Regions from separate parts of the Homo sapiens genome. Here regions 1, 3, 4, 5 and 6 are each linked to region 2. Evidence: promoter capture Hi-C in 16 types of primary human blood cells and fetal thymus (Javierre and others, 2016). All regions are on one chromosome and are shown on one strand. Each heading gives the region's core, a stretch centred on a gene start or on the middle of the fragment in contact. The rest is flanking DNA. Distances are from core to core; before and after follow the strand shown. Region 1 overlaps LOC105378671 (a long non-coding RNA gene). Region 2 holds the start of NFYC (nuclear transcription factor Y subunit gamma). Region 3 has its middle 2.5 kb from the start of PPT1. Region 4 overlaps CAP1 (cyclase associated actin cytoskeleton regulatory protein 1). Region 5 overlaps PPT1 (palmitoyl-protein thioesterase 1). Region 6 has its middle 28 kb from the start of RLF.

What was found. The method cuts DNA at HindIII sites, captures the fragments that hold promoters and counts their contacts. A CHiCAGO score of 5 or more calls a contact.
Region 1: a contact is called between a fragment that was not itself captured here and the fragment with the promoter of NFYC in region 2, in 1 of 17 cell types (neutrophils). The highest score is 5.9, in neutrophils.
Region 3: a contact is called between a fragment that was not itself captured here and the fragment with the promoter of NFYC in region 2, in 1 of 17 cell types (neutrophils). The highest score is 5.7, in neutrophils.
Region 4: a fragment that was not itself captured here is called in contact with the fragment with the promoter of NFYC in region 2 in 1 of 17 cell types (neutrophils); the score reaches 5.5 in neutrophils.
Region 5: a fragment that was not itself captured here is called in contact with the fragment with the promoter of NFYC in region 2 in 1 of 17 cell types (neutrophils); the score reaches 5.8 in neutrophils.
Region 6: a fragment that was not itself captured here is called in contact with the fragment with the promoter of NFYC in region 2 in 1 of 17 cell types (neutrophils); the score reaches 5.3 in neutrophils.

Annotation. Positions count from the first base shown.
Region 1 is chr1:40,155,133-40,157,899 of GRCh38, forward strand. LOC105378671 (a long non-coding RNA gene) reads right to left here. Exons shown (of 3, transcript XR_947232.3): 2 at 2,609-2,713. Among named protein-coding and RNA genes, the nearest start is that of RLF, 4.9 kb to the right of the region's middle. The HindIII fragment of the contact is 2,123 bases long and covers 426-2,548 here.
Region 2 is chr1:40,690,172-40,693,019 of GRCh38, forward strand. NFYC (nuclear transcription factor Y subunit gamma) reads left to right here and starts at 1,533. Exons shown (of 10, transcript NM_014223.5): 1 at 1,533-1,696. NFYC-AS1 (NFYC antisense RNA 1) reads right to left here and starts at 2,090. Exons shown (of 1, transcript NR_024567.1): 1 at 1-2,090. It also overlaps a transcript of RIMS3 not described here. RefSeq lists a silencer at 1,941-2,040 and enhancers at 2,281-2,450, 2,471-2,520. The HindIII fragment of the contact is 4,450 bases long and covers 1-2,848 here.
Region 3 is chr1:40,098,395-40,101,147 of GRCh38, forward strand. No RefSeq gene overlaps it. Among named protein-coding and RNA genes, the nearest start is that of PPT1, 2.5 kb to the left of the region's middle. The HindIII fragment of the contact is 1,194 bases long and covers 848-2,041 here.
Region 4 is chr1:40,061,018-40,063,823 of GRCh38, forward strand. CAP1 (cyclase associated actin cytoskeleton regulatory protein 1) reads left to right here. Exons shown (of 13, transcript NM_006367.4): 4 at 718-795. Among named protein-coding and RNA genes, the nearest start is that of CAP1, 22 kb to the left of the region's middle. The HindIII fragment of the contact is 3,835 bases long and covers 1-2,806 here.
Region 5 is chr1:40,079,593-40,082,292 of GRCh38, forward strand. PPT1 (palmitoyl-protein thioesterase 1) reads right to left here. Exons shown (of 9, transcript NM_000310.4): 6 at 805-895. Among named protein-coding and RNA genes, the nearest start is that of PPT1, 16 kb to the right of the region's middle. The HindIII fragment of the contact is 1,799 bases long and covers 503-2,301 here.
Region 6 is chr1:40,132,299-40,134,998 of GRCh38, forward strand. It overlaps the pseudogene OAZ1P1. Among named protein-coding and RNA genes, the nearest start is that of RLF, 28 kb to the right of the region's middle. RefSeq lists an enhancer at 587-1,086. The HindIII fragment of the contact is 4,652 bases long and covers 1-2,700 here.

The DNA.
Region 1 (2,767 bases), core at 237-2,736, 540 kb before region 2:
TTCAGTCTTATTAAATATTTTTGTACAAATAGTTATTCCCAATGCTAATATTCATTGTCTATTTATGATTATGTAAATGTTCAGTCTTACTCTCTACTCATGTTACATCTAGACAGATACATGTATATATCAGTGTATACGCATATGTGTGTATGGAGACAATTAAAAAAAGGAACATCTGCCACTACCAAGAAACAATACATGGTTATGCAAGAAAATGCATTTATGCTATCTAAGAGGAAGAGTATGACAAGCTAATTTGTGTTTTCTCTTACCCAAGTGCTTCTGTAGCTCGAACACACTCTACGTAGCATTTCAAAAACAGTGTGCCTATTTCTCTTAAGTAGCACAACCCAAAACCTTCAAGACATTAGGATGCAGTTGTCTTTCATTTTTTTAATGGTGGTAAAATATGCATAAGGTAAAGCTTATCATTTTATCCATTTTTAAGTGTATAGTTCAGTGGCATTAAGTACATTCACATTGTTGTGCAAGCATCACCACCCTCCATCACCGTAACTTTTTCATCTTCCCAAACTGAAATTCTACATCCATTAAACAATAACTCTGCTGGCCTCTCTCTCCCCCAGCCCCTGGCAACCACCATTATTCTTTCTTACTCTATGAATTTGACTACTCTATATACCTCATATAAGTGGACTCATACAACATTTGTCTTTTTATGATGCTTGTTTCACTTAGCATAATCAACATTTATCCATGTTGTAGCACGTGTCAGAATTTCCTCCCTCCCCCTGTTTTTTCAGGAATGAATTTCTTTCCTTTTTAAGGTTGAATAACATTCCATTGCATGTCTATACCACATTCATTTATTTATTCATTCATTCATGGACATTTGGGTCATTTTTATCGTTTGGTTATTATGAATAACAGTGTTGTGAACACAAATGTACAAATATTTGTTCATGTCTCTGGTTTCAATTCTTTTGGTGCCTTTCAGCTTTGAGTATATGGAGCAAGAGACGTGATAAAGAGGTTCCCTAAAGCCTGAATAGTAGTGGTAAAGAAAGCAAATATTTATCCGGGTGTGGTGATGCACACCTGCAATCCCAGATACTCAGGAGACTGAGGCAGAAGAATCTCTTGAACCCAGGAGGCAGAAATTCTAGTGAGTTGAGATCACCCCACTGCACTCCAGTCTAGTGACAAAGGGGAAACTCCGTCAAAAAAAAAAAAAAAGAAGAAGAAGAAGAAAGAAGGAAAGAAAGAAAGAAACAAAGAAACAAAGGAAGAAAGAAAAGAATAGAAATGGAAAAAAGCTAGGCTTGTTGTTGCATTTCTGTAGTCTCAGCTACTCAAGAGACTGACGTGAGAGGCTTGCTTGAGTCCAGGAAGGCCAAGGCTGCAGTGAGCTGTGATCATACCACTGCATTTCAGCATGGGTGACAGAGTGAGACCCTGCCTCAAGAAAGCAAATATTTAAGATTGTACTTGTGCTGAGTGCTGGATTTCAAATGATAGGGGTGCCCATGTGTTCTTTAATATAGTTACTGTGTGTGTGTGTGTGTGTGTGCATGTGTGTGTGTGTAAGAAAGAGAGAGAGAGGTTTGTGTAGTCCTCTAAAGTGTGGGACCCAGGGCAGGGCCCTTGTTGCCTGGACTTAGGGTGGTATTGTCATAAGCACATACATGTATTAGAACTGGGTGAGTGTAGCAGTGAGTGTAGATAGAAAAGAAGTTGACAGACTATGCCTGGGACACTTAGAAATCACAAAGAAAAGAGAGAATAAAAGAAAAGAAATCAAGAAAAAAAACACCAGGAGAATGTGCAGACTTGGAATCCAAGTGAAATTAAATGTTGGGGAATTATCGACAATGCCAAATACTGCTAAGAGATTGACTAAACAAGGACTGATAATTCACCTTTGGACACACACAAAAGTAGAACTCACTGGTGGTGTTAAAATGAGCTGTTTCATTGACTGGTGGGGATAAAACCTGACTGAGAAGAGTTCAAGTAAGAATGAGAAGAGGGTAAGTAGAAACAGAAGGTCTGGCCAGCTCTTTAGAGAAGTTTTTCTATAAAAGGAAGCAAAGAAGTGGGATGGAAGCTAGATGAAGATGTGGTGGAGTCACTAGAGATTTATTTTTCTTTTTGCCTAACAGAGGTGGAACAGCTGATGGCCCCACATCTTCAGCTGAAGCTCCACAGTCACACATACAAGTGCCTATCTGGCATCTCCATTTAAATGTCTCATAGGAACTCACAGGAAAATCAAACTTAACCTGTTCCAAATAGAACTCTTGATTCTCCCTCACTCTATCCCCAGTCTGTTCTTTCCTAAGCCTTCCTTTTCTCAATAAACATCATTGCCCACCATTCAAACCAAAAGCCATGTAGCCATTCCAGATTATTTCAATTTCCTCAAAAACAGTGCATCAGCCTGTTAGTTCTACTTCCAAAATACATCTCTAACTTGATCATCTGGAGTACTACAATAGGTTCCCTGCTTTCATTCTCGCCTCTCACCACCTATTCTCACATGGCAGCAAGAGTGTAAACCAGACAAAGTTACACCTCCACTTAAAGCTTTGATTACTCAGTAAAACAATGATTACTCAGTACACTTCAAATCCCCACTGCTTACCTTGAGCTATACTGTCCTACATGACCTGGCTCTTTGCTCCTTCTCCAATCTCATCTTCACTTCTTTCTCTCTCTTGCACCATACTCCAGACATGCTGGCCTAAACCTAATTATTTGTATTACAAAGATATAAAAAAATAGAGAATAATATTTATATATA
Region 2 (2,848 bases), core at 283-2,782:
TAACTAAATGTACACTTTTACATTTTTTGGCAAGCATAGTATATGCAATAAGTACTCAATAAACATCTGTAGAGAGACTTATTTAGCTTTTTTCCATTAGCTACATCTGTCTCTACAATCTCAACATACTATTCTCTTGAATCTGTTTTTAATTTTATGCCATTTCTCATGTCTGAAAATGTCATTATAAGTAACTTTTTTTTTTTCTGAGACAGGGCCTCGCACTGTCGCCCATGCTAGAGTGCAGCGAGACACTCGTAGCTCTTACCAGTAACTTCTTTATAACACTTTTGCAATTTACGAAGCACTCTCACATTATTTCATTCACTCTCCCCAACATTACCAAAAGTTAGGAATTAGATCTTTTTACAGATGAAGGAATTGAGACTCCCTGAAGTCAAGTGTCTTATAGTTAGGTTTTGTTCATTCATTCATCAAATAGAGTGCCTGATGTGAGATTTATTGAAACTGGATTTGAAAACAATTTTCCTGAATTCAAGTCGAGGGTTTACTCCACTATTCTCAATTACTTTATCACCAGGGTTATAAACCCAAAGGAAGTGAGTAACAACAGTGTGATTTTATTGAGGACCCATGCAACACTAGTCTCAGAAAGGCTCCAGTGTCATTTGTAAAATTCAAGGTTACCATCAGCAGAGGCAGTCATTCCTCTCTGCGCTTGTTACCTAATGCACTAACTCTCACTGTAGGTAATTCCATTCAAGACACATTTGATGACTATACCTACAGGTTTTGAAGTTATTCGGATGGGGTTTTGACACTTACTAGCTGTGGGGACTTAGATCAAGTTACTTAACCTTTTTGAGCTTCAGTTTTATCATTTGTAAAATGGATACAATCCTGATGCCTTTGGACCAAGTGGTCACGGAAATGAAAGAGATAAGTATGAAAAAATCCATGCTCATAGTAGCTGTGGTTTCCAACTGCGTGATAAAACTTTAAAATCTGCATTCAAATAAGAACAACTATGTCGACGTAAGGTTACAAGCTAACTATTCTTGGTAAGTACTGTTCTTTATTCTAGAGGACATCACTTTACAGTTTGGTGCTAAATGCTCTTTTATGAATTTAAGGTGCCAGTAGCTGTCTACTTGAACGGCATGCTTAATCTGGAACGCCATGTCGACCTTCATCCCCCAGTTCTTTCTCCCCAAATTAAAAACACAAATACACACACACGCCCCTACTTAGTTCCTAAAACTCAAGGGCACGCGCACACACCTACTTATTTCCTAAAATTCAAGCTCGCACCAAGGAGATCCACAAGGATAGGCAGGGTGGTGGAGGTCACTGGGCAGCGCCTCCGGATCCCCCGAAAGGGGGCGGGGTCAAAACTCAGATCTCGAGCTCCCGAAAGGGGGCGGGGTTAAAACTCTCAGATCTCATTCCGCCTCCCTCTGTCGTCGCCCCTTCCCAATTCTCGCGAGACCTCAAGGAGCACAGCTTCTGCGCACCGCACGATACTGGGAGTCCAGGCGCCAAGGGAGGGGGAAGGGAAAAGGGGAAACGGTGCAAACGGCGTGGCCGCCATCTTGCTTGTGCCCCCGCTTCGCGCGCGCTCCGTTCTCCGTGACGCACACTTCCCCCTCCCCTCCGCCGCGCCTGGGCCTCTGCATTGCCCGACTCCGTAGGAGCGCGGGGGCGGCTCCTGCTCTTCCTGGACTCCTGAGCAGAGGTGTGTGAGTGTGCGGGAGTTTCTGTGCGAGGGTGATAGGGAAGCGGCGGCGGGGGGAGGGGCAGCGCTTCCCGCCTTCGCCAGAGACCTCACTTCCTCGCGCGGCCGCTGCTGTAGCTCGGTCCGTCCTGCCCGCCGCCATGTTGTGCTCTTGCCTGGCCCGCTGCTGTCGCCGCCGCCGCGCTCGTGGGGTCCGTGTGCCTCGTCGGCCCGGCCCGCGGGCTTTCTCCCATTGGCGGAAGGCGACGGCGGGGGGGCTCGCTCGTGATTGGTCGGTGGCGGGGAGGCCGCGGACCTGGCACCTTATTGGACGCGCCAGCTCCGGTCTAGGGGGTGATGAAGGAATCTGAGGCTGCGGGGATGCGCGCGTCTTGGGCTAGGGCGGCTGGGGCAATGACCCCCTGCGGCGCAGGCGTGGGGTTGCGGCGAGAGGGCGAGCCTAGAGGCTTTAAGGGGGAAGAGAGGGTGATGGCCTGGCAGGTACTTTGGGGGTAGCTTAGGCCATGGCCTGGGAATGGGGGACACTCACTTTCAGAGGTGCTTTTCCTGGTACATGCATGGCCCAAGATTGGGGTGTGCAGGCCCTCAGGGTTCCAGGCTTGGAAACACCGAAACCCAAGTGACAGGCTGAGAGTCTTCGAGATCCAGGGTTGCTAATGTGACCCAGTTTGGAAGTGGCCCTGAAGTCCACGGTGTGAGTGTATGGTGTAGGAAGAAAGGCATCAGGGCTAGGGGCATAGCTGAACGGTAGAATCGGATCAGGGATTTTGCTGGAGAGTGCAAGCATTCAAACACTGAGGTTTTGGTGGAGCCCTGGAGTCCAGAGTCAACGGACCTGGGATGTGATGTGAGGAGCAAGTAAACCGAGAGAGGAATGCTATTGAGAAGTGTGCTCTGTCCGAGCCTAGGAAGCACAGCATTAAGTAGTATCAGATTTAAAGTGACAAAATCTGATATAGGAAGCATTTTAGGGGACATTTTCGGACTTGGGAAGTGTATTAATAGAACAGTTATACATTATTGAGTCTCAGGACCATACAAGTAGTTTTGAGATGTTGTATATGAAATTTGCTGCTCTAGGAAGGATACAGGTCATGGCTGAGTTTCCAAAGCCACATTAGCAAATATTAGGTAGTTGGTAGTTATTTGTTG
Region 3 (2,753 bases), core at 195-2,694, 590 kb before region 2:
GGAGAATCTCTTGAACCCGGGAGGCAGAGGTTGCGGTAAGCTGAGATCATACCATTGTACTCCAGCCTGGGCAACAAGAGCAAAACTCTGTCTCAAAAAATAAGAATAAAAAATAAATAAAAAGAGAGTACAGCCCAGGCAGCATAGCAAGACCCCATCTCTACAAAAAAAAAATTTTTTTTTAATTAGCCAGGGGTGGTGGTATGTGCCTGTAATCCTAGCTACTGGGGAGGCTAAGGTGGGAGGATCACTTGAGCCCAGGAGTTCAAGGCTGCATTGAGCTATGATCTCGCCATTGCACTGAGCTATGATCTCGCTGTTGCCCTGGGCAACAGTGAGACCCTGTCTCTCTCAAAAAAGAAAAATGAGGTAAATTTACATAAAGTGACATGAAAAATGCCCTTAATATGTTGTAAAAGAAAAGTCGATTACAAACCCACGGTCTGTAATCTCTTCTATTCCATGCCATTGGGACTAGAGGTAAGTTGTTAGTTGAAAAGTCGATTAAAATGCAGAATCCACTGGGCGCACTTTGGGAGGCTGAGGCAGGTGGATCACCTGAGGTTGGGAGTTTGAGACCAGCCTGGCCAACATGATGAAACCCCATCTCTACTAAAAATACAAAAAATTAGCCGGGCATGGTGGTGGGTGCCTGTAATCCCAGCTACTCAGGAGGCTGAGACAGGAGAATCACTTGAACCCAGGAGGCAGAGGGTGCAGTGAGCCAAGATTGAGCTACTGCACTCCAGCCTGGGCAACAAGAGTGAAACTCTGTCTCAAAGAAAAAAAAATGCAGAATCATAAAGCATTATACAGTACAGTATACAGTTTTGTTTTAAGAAAAATAAGCTTATTGTATAAGCATTTTATTTTAACTTAAGACTTACAAATTGAAGTAGTTTCAGGATTTTTCTGTGAATATAGCCCGCTCAATGAAGTTTCCTGCCTTTAATGAACTATTTATAATTTCTTTAAAGGTTTCTTTAAACTGGAGCAATAACTGAAAGACACTTGTGAAGCAATCTGAATGCAATTTTTTTTTTTTTTTGAGACAGGGTCTTGTTCTGTCCCCCAGACTGGAGTGCAGTGGCGTGATCTTGGCTCACTGTAACCTCCACCTCCCGGGTTCAAGCGATTCTCGTGCCTCTGCCTCCCGAGTAGCTGGGATTACAGACACACCACCAACATGCCCCGCTAATTTTTTGTGTTTTTTGTAGAGACAGGGTTTCGCCATGTTGCCCAGGCTGGTCTCGAACTCCTGAGCTCAGGCAATCCGCCCCCCTCAGCCTCCCAAAGTTCTAGGATCACAGCTGTGAGCCATTGTGCCAGACCAACATTCTTTTTGTTTTTTATTTTTGATTCAGGGTCACATATGCAAGTTTGCTATATAGGTAAGTTGTATGTCAAGGAGGTTGGGTGTACGTTTTATTTTGTCACTGCCATAATGAACATAGTACCCAATAGGTAACTTTTCATTTCCACCCTCATGTAGGCCCCAGTGTCTGTTGTTCCCTTCTTTGTGTCCATCTGTACTTAATGTTTAGCTCCCACTTATAAGTGAGAACATGTGGTATTTGGTTTTGTTTTCCTGCATTAGTTTGCTTAGGATAATGACCTAAGCAGTTCCATCTATGTTGCTGCAAAGGACATTATCTCATTCCTTTTTTGGCTGTGTAGTATGCTATGGTGTATACCTACCACATTTTCTTTATCCAGTCTACTGTTGATGGATACTTAGGTTAATTCCATGTCTTTGCTATTATGAATAGTGCTATGATGACTTTTTTTTTTTTTTTTTTTTTTTGCGACAGGGTCTTGCTCTATTCCCCAAGTTGGACTGCAGTGACACAATCATAGCTTACTGCAGCCTGGAACTCCTGGGCTCAAGGGATCCTCCCGCCTCAGCCTCTCAAAGTGCTGGGATTACAGGTGTGAGCCACAGTGTTTGGATGTGAAATTATTCTAGATGGAAGACTTTCCACTCTCAGATTTCCGACCCAGAGTTACTTTAACAATTTTTTTTAACAACTTGCCTTTAACAAGCTTTTCCAATGCATTCAACTTAGTTTTCACAGAAACATCTCTTTTCTCTTTATGCTCATATTTCATGTTTTCAAAAATTTAACTAAATTATGATAGCAAATATCACCGATATATTAATAAATAAATAAAATAAGCCCAAAGGCATTTAGTAAGCAAGTAGCTCAATTGACAGGAACAGAACTACCCAAGAGTTCTGAAAAGCAGCCTCTAGCCATGTGGGCATGCTGTGGGCATAGGTAAGTAGGTAAGTACATTTTAGAACTGGGAGAGTAAGTTAAACAGGGCATAAGAAAATAACTATGTATTTATGTACATACATATATGATGGTTGTACAACTCTATAAATTTACTAAAAATCATTGGTTTGTACACATAAAATGGGTGACTTTTATGGCATGTGGAATATATTTCAATAAAGCTGTTCTTTTTTTAAAGAAGACATCTGTGTATTTATATATTTGTACATTATCACTGAAAGGTCAAAGCATTGCCAAGAAAAAAGAGGCTGGGTGCGGTGGCTCACGCCTGTAATCCCAGCACTTTGGGAGGCTGAGGCGGGTGGATCACGAGGTCAGGAGATCGAGACCATCCTGGCTAACACGGTGAAACCCCGTCTCTACTAAAAAATACAAAAAATTAGCCGGGCGTGGTGGCAGGCACCTGTAGTCCCAGCTACTCGGGAGGCTGAGGCAGGAGAATGGTGTGAGCCC
Region 4 (2,806 bases), core at 46-2,545, 630 kb before region 2:
AATTTTTGTATTTTAATAGTGCTTACAGTCTCATGTTTCTTAAATTCTTTTGACTGCGAATGACCCTTAGAAAGAAAGAACATATTCGTAACTGAGATAAAAGTTTCACAAGATGATATTTATACTACTTCTGCTGTACTTTTTTTTTTTTTAACTTTTTATTTGGAAATAACTTGAAGTTGGTGCACTGCACTCATACTTTTGTTCCATTAAGCTCACTAAATTGATTTAATTATTTATTAATGGGTCATGGTATCTGGCATTTGAGAGATAGCTTTAATCTAAAGGAGTAAATACCTTGAGAATTTTCAGCAGAAATTTAGGCCTTTGCCTTTACTCCTGTCTCCAATTTTTGAGAAAAGAAAGGTGTTTTTTTGGTTGCTGTTTGTTTTATTTTGCTGATGTGAAATAGGAAGGATTTTTCAGTGCACGGTATCACAATGCATGTGTAAGATGCTAACATGACTTCATGTAAGCTAGGTGATTATCCAATTAACTTCACTTCCAACTCTGGATATATATCCCTGATGAGTTCCAATAGGAACAGTAGTGTATGTAATTCTGCTCTCAGTCCCTGGAATCTGGAATACATGAGGAGGATAACATGAAGTGCCTGGGTTGCTATCAGAGTACATGGAAGTAGAGGTTTCAGGTTATTCTTATCAAGACTTCTCTAGTTATAATGTGTCATCAATAGCTGATTCTTCTTTCTGGCAGGCGGAGATGGTCCACACAGGTTTGAAGTTGGAGCGAGCTCTGTTGGTTACAGCTTCTCAGTGTCAACAGCCAGCAGAAGTAAGTTCACTACTAGCTGGTTTCATTTTGGTTTGATGCTCAGGACGAGTTGAGAGATTTATGTCAAGCTATTATAACATTTTAAAATAGACCTACTAGGCTTTTGATAATATATGTTCATACCAAGTCCCAGAGGTAGAGCCATACTTCAAGTGCCTTAATGGGAAGGTACTATTGGGTACTTAATGGTCTCTACTGGCTTTTTCTCTGTCATTTTGCATAGGACTGTGGTTATCCCTGGGACTTTGCTTGCCTGCCTCTTTGCTGAGTCCACATTCATCATAGTGTCTCCAAAGCCCTTTAAAGATGATTCTCTTGCTTCACTGTGGATGGGCTTTAGTAGTGCTCCTGTGGAGATCTTAAAACTCCTACAGTATTGCTTCTCTCCTCATCCTTCACTGGTTGGGAGACTCTCTCTTTAATTTTACTCCCACCTCAAAATTTTATGGTGCAAGATGTGAAAAGTTGAATTAGAGAAAATTTAGATTTCTCTTGGAGTCAAAGAATATAGGTTTCCTTCTTTTGCATTTGGTTTTCCTAGTTACAGAGGAATAATAAAGCAAGTTGTCCTAAATGCTGTATTAAAACCCTTGACCCTCAGCATGCCTAGATAATATAAAAATAGTGCAAGATAATGTCAAATATATTAGATTCTGGTTAAGTGTGCTGGCTCATTCCTGTAATCCCAGCACTTTGGGAGGCTGAGGCAGGAGGATCACTTGAGGCCAGGAGTTTGAGACCAGCCTGGGCAACATAGCAAGACCTCGTCTCTATTAAAAATTAAAAAAATAAAATAAATAAAAATAGCCAGGCAAGGTGGTGCATGCGTATAGTCCCAGCTACTTGAGAGGCTGAAATGGGAGGAAGATTTGGGCCTGAAAGTTTGAGGATGCAGTGAGCCATGAACACACCACTGCACTCCAGCCTGGGCGACAGAGCAAGACCTTCTCTCAAAAAACATTGTGTGTGTGTGTGTGTGTGTGTGTATAGATGCCATCTAATTCTAATATGTAGAATTAGATTTTAATTCTTAATCTGTCCTGAATGGTTAAGATCTGAGAATTGAGATGTTCAGGAAATGGAGCTTTGGAGGAAGGGTGCAAACACAAACAAAATTCATCCATTTTGCCAAGGTGCCTACTTGAATGCTAAGCCCCTAATTGTTTTTTATTTTATTTATGTTTAAAAAAAAATTTTTTTTTTGAGACAGGGTGTTGTTTTGTCACCCAGACTGGAGGGTAGTGGTGCAATCACAGCTCACTGAAGCCTTGACCTCCCAGGTGTAATGATCCTCCCACCTCAGCCTCCTGAGTAGCCTTGACTACAGTGTGCACCACCATGCCTGGCTTGCTTATTTACTTACTTATTTATTTATTTATTTCTGAGATGGAGTTTCTCTCTGTCGCCCAGGCTGGAGTGCAGTGGCAGGATCTCGGCTCACTGAAACCTCCACCTCCCAGGCTCAAGTGATTCTCCCACCTCAGCCTCCTGAATAGCTGGGACTACAGGCATGCGCCACCATGCCCAGCTGATTTTTGTATTTTTATAGAGATGGGGTTTCCCCATGTTGCCCAGGCTGATCTTAAACTCCTGGACTCAAGCGATCTGCCCACCTTGGCCTCCCAAAGTGCTGGGATTACAGGCGTGAGCCACCATGCCTGGCCCTAATTCTTTTTATTATTTGTAGAGACAAAGTTGTGCTGTGTTGTTCAGTCTGTCTTGAACTCCTGGTCTCAAGCAGTTCTCCTGCCTTGGCCTCCCAAAGTGCTGGGATTACAGGCGTGGGTCACCATGCCCAGACTAAGCCCCCTAATTGCATTTGATTCATCAGTTCTTTACAGCAGCTACTATATGGCTGGCAATGCATTGGGGGCTTTCATGATGATAAAAGAGCTCGTCTTTGAAGAATTAATGAGAAAGTAAAACATATTCACATGGGTCCATTAATAGTTTGTATTGGTGAGTGATAAAATGCCAAGATTGGTTATGCTGACAACAAATGCTGTAGGAG
Region 5 (2,700 bases), core at 152-2,651, 610 kb before region 2:
ACTATGCTGGCCAGGCTGGTCTCGAACTCCTGACCTCAAGTGATCTGCCCACCTCGGCCTCCCAAAGTGCTGGGATTACAGGCGTGAGCCACCACGCCCGGCCTTCTATAGGCTTTTCTTACCATCCTATCTGACTGACATGCCACTGAGCATGGCATACAGGTACAACTATGAGTTTACACCACACTCCATAGGTGTCCATCACATAGGTGAGAGGCTTCTAGTCAGAGAAAGCCAAGACAAAATAAGAAACTGCAAATTCTGGGTCGTTCTGCTATATACTATTCTGTGTTGTTTTTTGTTTGGTTTGTTTTTCCCTTCAAACTGTTTCAAAACAAAAAACCAAAAGACTCTCCAGATGAGTCAAATATAAACTGAGCCATCTAGTTTACCAGAACCTACCAAACCATGTTTGTGTCTGGGACATACTCAGTGCCTACTGTATCTCTCTTTTAGGTAAATCTCTAGAGAAAAATCCACCCCCAGACTGATCCATCAGGAAAGCTTCCCTCATTAAGACAGCAGCTGTGAATTTCCACCTCGCCCAGTCAGCAACCTGCCGAGCTTATCCTGTGTGTTTCAACACTAGGAGAGGGAAAGAACTTAAGGGAAGAAAGGCAAATGAATTTCAACCTCCCTAAAGGGAACTGAATCTCAAAGGCCCTGCCTCCCAAAAAAAACAGAACTTCTCTTTCCTAGTGTCTGCCCAGGACAGTTTGGGTAAACAGTCACTGCTGATTTGTTTATGAAGACCTAAACAGGAAAAAGAACGCACATCTATGGGAGCCCGGTTTGGGTGCTTACCCGCTCCTGATTTATATCTGCCAAGAAGATGCTGTGGTTGCGATACACATCCTCCTTTATGGGGTCATGCCAGTATTCGGCTTGCACGAGGCTGTAGGAAAAAAAAAGAATGAGGTGATCAAGCTACAGGTCAGTCAGTACGCCCAGGGCATGCTCAGTGCAAAGGCCACCAAGAGACTTTAAAAGGACAAAAGGCCAGCCAGGCACAGTGGCTCACACCTGTAATCCCAGCACTTTGGGAGGCTGAGGCAGGTGGATCACGAGGTCAGGAGTTCAAGACCAGCCTAGCCAAGATGGTGAAACCCCGTCTCTACTAAAACTACAAAAATTAGCCAGGCGCGGCGGCAGGCGCCTGTAATCCTAGCTACTTGGGAGGCTGAGGCAGGAGAACTGCTAGAACCCCGGCGGCAGAGGTTGCAGTGAGCTGAGATCGCAGCACTGCACTTCAGCCTGTGCGACAGAGTGAGACTCTGTCTCAAAAAACAAGGACAAAAGGCCAAAGCCCTCAAGTCCCAGGCCTTACCCTTTAATACAGAAGACAAGACTTGCACCTAGGAAACAGTCTGTCAACAAGACACCTTGTTGAGACAGACTGTTCAGCATAGTACAGAAATTATAAAAGATTCAGGCAAAGGACTCATCAATATTTGCTTCTCCTGTGACACTGGGGTTTATCATACTTATCATGCTGATATGGTTTGGCTGTGTCCTCACCCAAATCTCATCTTGAATTGTAACTCCCACAATTCCCATATGTCATGGGAGGTGACTGAATTACAGGGGTGGGTCTTTCCTGTGCTGTTCTCGTGACAGTGAATAAGTCTCATGAGATCTGATGGTTTCAAAGAGGGGAGTTGGGCCAGATTCTGTGGCTCATGCTTATAATCCCAGCACTTTGGGAGGCCAAGGCGGGCAGATCGCCTGAGGTCAGGAGTTCGAAACCAACCTGGCCAACATGAGGAAACCCCGTCTCTACTAAAAATACAAAAATTAGCCAGGCACGGTGGCATGTGCCTGTAATCCCAGCTACTTGGGAGGCAGAGGGAGGGAGAATCGCTTGAACCTGGGAAGCTGAGGTTGCAGTGAGCCAAGATCACGCCATTGCACTCCAGCCTGGGAGACAGAGCGAGAATCCATCTCAAAAAATAAATAAATAAATAAATAAATAAATAGAAAATAAAATTAAGAGGGGAGTTTCCCTGCCCAAGCTCTCTTCTTTTGTCTACCGTCATGTGAGATGTGCCTTTCGCCTTCCGCCATGATTGTGAGGCTTCCCCAGCCACATGGAACTGTAAGTCCATTATAAACCTCTATTTGCCCAGTCTCGGGTATGTCTTTATCGGTAGCATGAAAACAGACTAATACAGTAAATAAGTACCAGTAGAGTGGGGTGCTGCTGAAAAGTTACCCAAAATGTGGAAGTGACTTTGGAACTGGGTAACAGGCAGAGGCTGGCACAGTTTGGAGGCCTCAGAAGAAGACAGGAAAATGTGGGAAAGCTTGGAACTTTCTAGAGACTTGTTGAATGGCTTTGACCAAAAGCCTGATAGTGATATAGACAATAAGGTCCAGGCTGAGGTAGTCTCAGATGGAGATGAGGAACTTGCTGGGAACTGGAGCAAAGGGGACTCTTTATACTTTCTTTCCAATCTCTCTCCACTTCCTCTTCCCTTCCAGCCCCCACCTCCTCAAAATGGGCACGGTTACCCCAAGGCCTCACATGGGGAAATTCGAACAAACTCTATCCCAGGTTGGCAGGGAGAGAAATCAAAATTTCTACAACATACGCTCCGTAGCCAGAGTGGAAGAGCTGCCCAGAGGCAGTGGTCCTGAAAACGCCACTCGGTGGAGCAGGCTGGCGCTAAAGCCCAACAGAGCCAGCTACGTCAGAGATGG
Region 6 (2,700 bases), core at 109-2,608, 560 kb before region 2:
ACTTCCATTGACTATGTAATTATGCAGAGCAAAGCCAAACCATTAATTATAATTTATATAAATTAATTTATTTCCTTTCTTGCTTAGGGTTTTATTTTTTTAATTATTGTCAAAGCTGTTTATGACAAAATATGAGCAAAGGAAGCCATTTTTCCCCTACTGACAGGAAATAAACTAGACTTTTTTTTACAAGATCACTTAACCAGTGTCAATGGATGTAAAAATTCAAAGAGGGATGAATAAATTCAAATCTTATTTTTGTATTTATTTATAAAAATAAATAACAATAAATATAAATTTTATATTTATTATAAAAATAAATATAAATTTTATATTTATTATAAAAATAAATATAAATTTAAGGTATTCGATAACTTATGGGACGTCTCAATTTGTGCTTTAAGGGCGCACGGCGCAGAGAGGCGCAGCAGAGGTTTTCCAGGTTCCGGATGCCAGGGGCCGGATGGTGAACTCCTCCCTGCAGCGAATCCTCAAAAGCCACTGCTTTGCCAGAGAGAAGAAAGGGGATCAAAGCCAGCGCCACCGTCCACGCCAGCCGCACCAGGCCGCTCCTCAGCCTGCACAGCCGCAGCGGCCGCAGCAGCAAGAGTTCCAGGGTCTCCCTCCGCTGCTGTAGTAACCCGGTCCGGGATCTCGGTGGTGCTCCTGATGCCCCTCGCGCACCCCTGATGCCGGTCGCCCACCCCTGAAGATTCCGGGTGGGCGAGGGAATCGTCAGAGGGATCACGATCTTTCAGCTACTCTACTCCTATGATCGACTGCATGTAACAGAGATTCTAACGTTCAACGACAAGAGGATTCTCAACGTCCACTCCAGGCTCACAGATGCCAAACTGGCATTAACTGGCGAGCCGTGCTGAGCGGCGGCAGCCTCTGCATCGGAGATTCCTGGTGGTGCGCTGCCCCAGGGGAGCGAGGATAGCTTTGCAGTTCTCCAGCAGTTCGCCGAGGAGCAGCTGAGCGCCGACCATGTCTTCATTTGCTTCCACAAGAACCACGAGGACAGAGCCGCCTTGCTCCGGACCTTCAGCTTTTGGGGCTTTGAGATTGTGAGACCCCTTGTCCCCAAGAGACCCGACACTTGCTTCATGGCCTACACGTCGGGGAGAGAGTCTTTGGGCGAGGAGTAGTAGCGGCCGCAGCGGGACTGGGCATCAAGCTCCTGGGGCCGCCCCGGCGTCTGCCGGGTGGGTGCGAACGGTAGGCTCGCTCATCTCGCCTGGGTTTATCCACATGTTGTAACTGCAAATGAACGCTAAAAAAAAAAAAAAAAAAAAAAAATTAGCTGGGCGTGGTGGCGCCTGCCTGTAATTTCAGCTACTTGGGAGGCTGAGGCAGGAGAATTGCTTGAACCCAGGAGGCGGAGGTTGTGGTGAACCAAGATCGTGCCGTTGCACTCCAGAATGGGCAACAAGAGTGAAACTCCGTCTCAAAAAAAAAAAAAAAAGAAATGAAAATTGAGACATGATATGCTGGAAGATATAAGTGCCATTAACGAAATAGAGCGGAATAAGAGGGATCAGGAACGTTGGAGAGGGAGGATTGTAATGTTAAATAATTAGGATTTTGATGTAGAATTTTAATTTTATTTAGAATTATTATTTGTATTAGAGTAAGATAAAAATAATGAGATTAGAGTTAAATTGAATCCATGACTCTGAAAAGTCTCATTCAGCCAATGAAATGGTTAAATGTTTGCTTTGTTTTTGGCCCTGCTGACACCCTGCGGTCACTGAAGATGATACATTGCAGCCCTGGTGCCTAAATCCTCCATGTTAACCTTCATAAAAATAGTGGCCAGTGCCAAATCTCCAGGCAGAGAAATGCCTGATATATTTTGTTACTGATGGGAAGGAGGAATTTTTGGGGGGTTTCAAGTATAATGTTGCAGGAGTCAAACAGGAAGGTTTGAGAAGAAAGTTTTCACGCCCAGGGACAGTCAAACCATGACAGGTTGAATATGGAAATCAATGCCTATAATCAACTGGAACAAGTTAAATCTATATATACGCCCTGAATCCAGGATAATATAAAATAAAGAGATGTTAACATGAGATATGGTTAAAATATAGTTACAATGTAGAAGTAAATTATCAATATATGTTTATAAACATTTGAGAATATTATTTATTAAGTCAAATTATGAAAGTTCCACCTTAGAGCTATGGTCATGACTTGAGTAAACAATCACAATTATTACCATATAAGGAAGCACTGTCCAATAGAAATAAAAATGTGAGGCAGTGGTTCACGCCTGTAATCCCAGCACTTTGGGAGGCTGAGGCAGGCGGATCACGAGGTCAGGAGATTGAGACCATCCTGGCTAACACGGTGAAACCCCATCTCTACTAAAAATACAAAAATTAGCTGGGTGTGGTGGCAGGCGCCTGTAATCCCAGCTAGTTGGGAGGCTGAGGGAGAAGAATCGTTTGAATCTCATACTAGGTCTCCTCCTCCTCCTCCTCCTCCTCTTCTTCTTCCTCATACTAAGAATCACTTGAATCTCATAGTAGGTCTCCTCATCCTCCTCTTCCTCCTCCTCCTCTTTCCCCTTCTCCTTCTCTGTCTCCTTCTCCTCCTTCTTTTCTTCTTCAACAGGGTCTTGTTCTGTCACCCAGGCTGAAGTATACTGGCATAATCATAGCTTACTGCAGTCTTGAACTCCTGGGCTCAAACAAT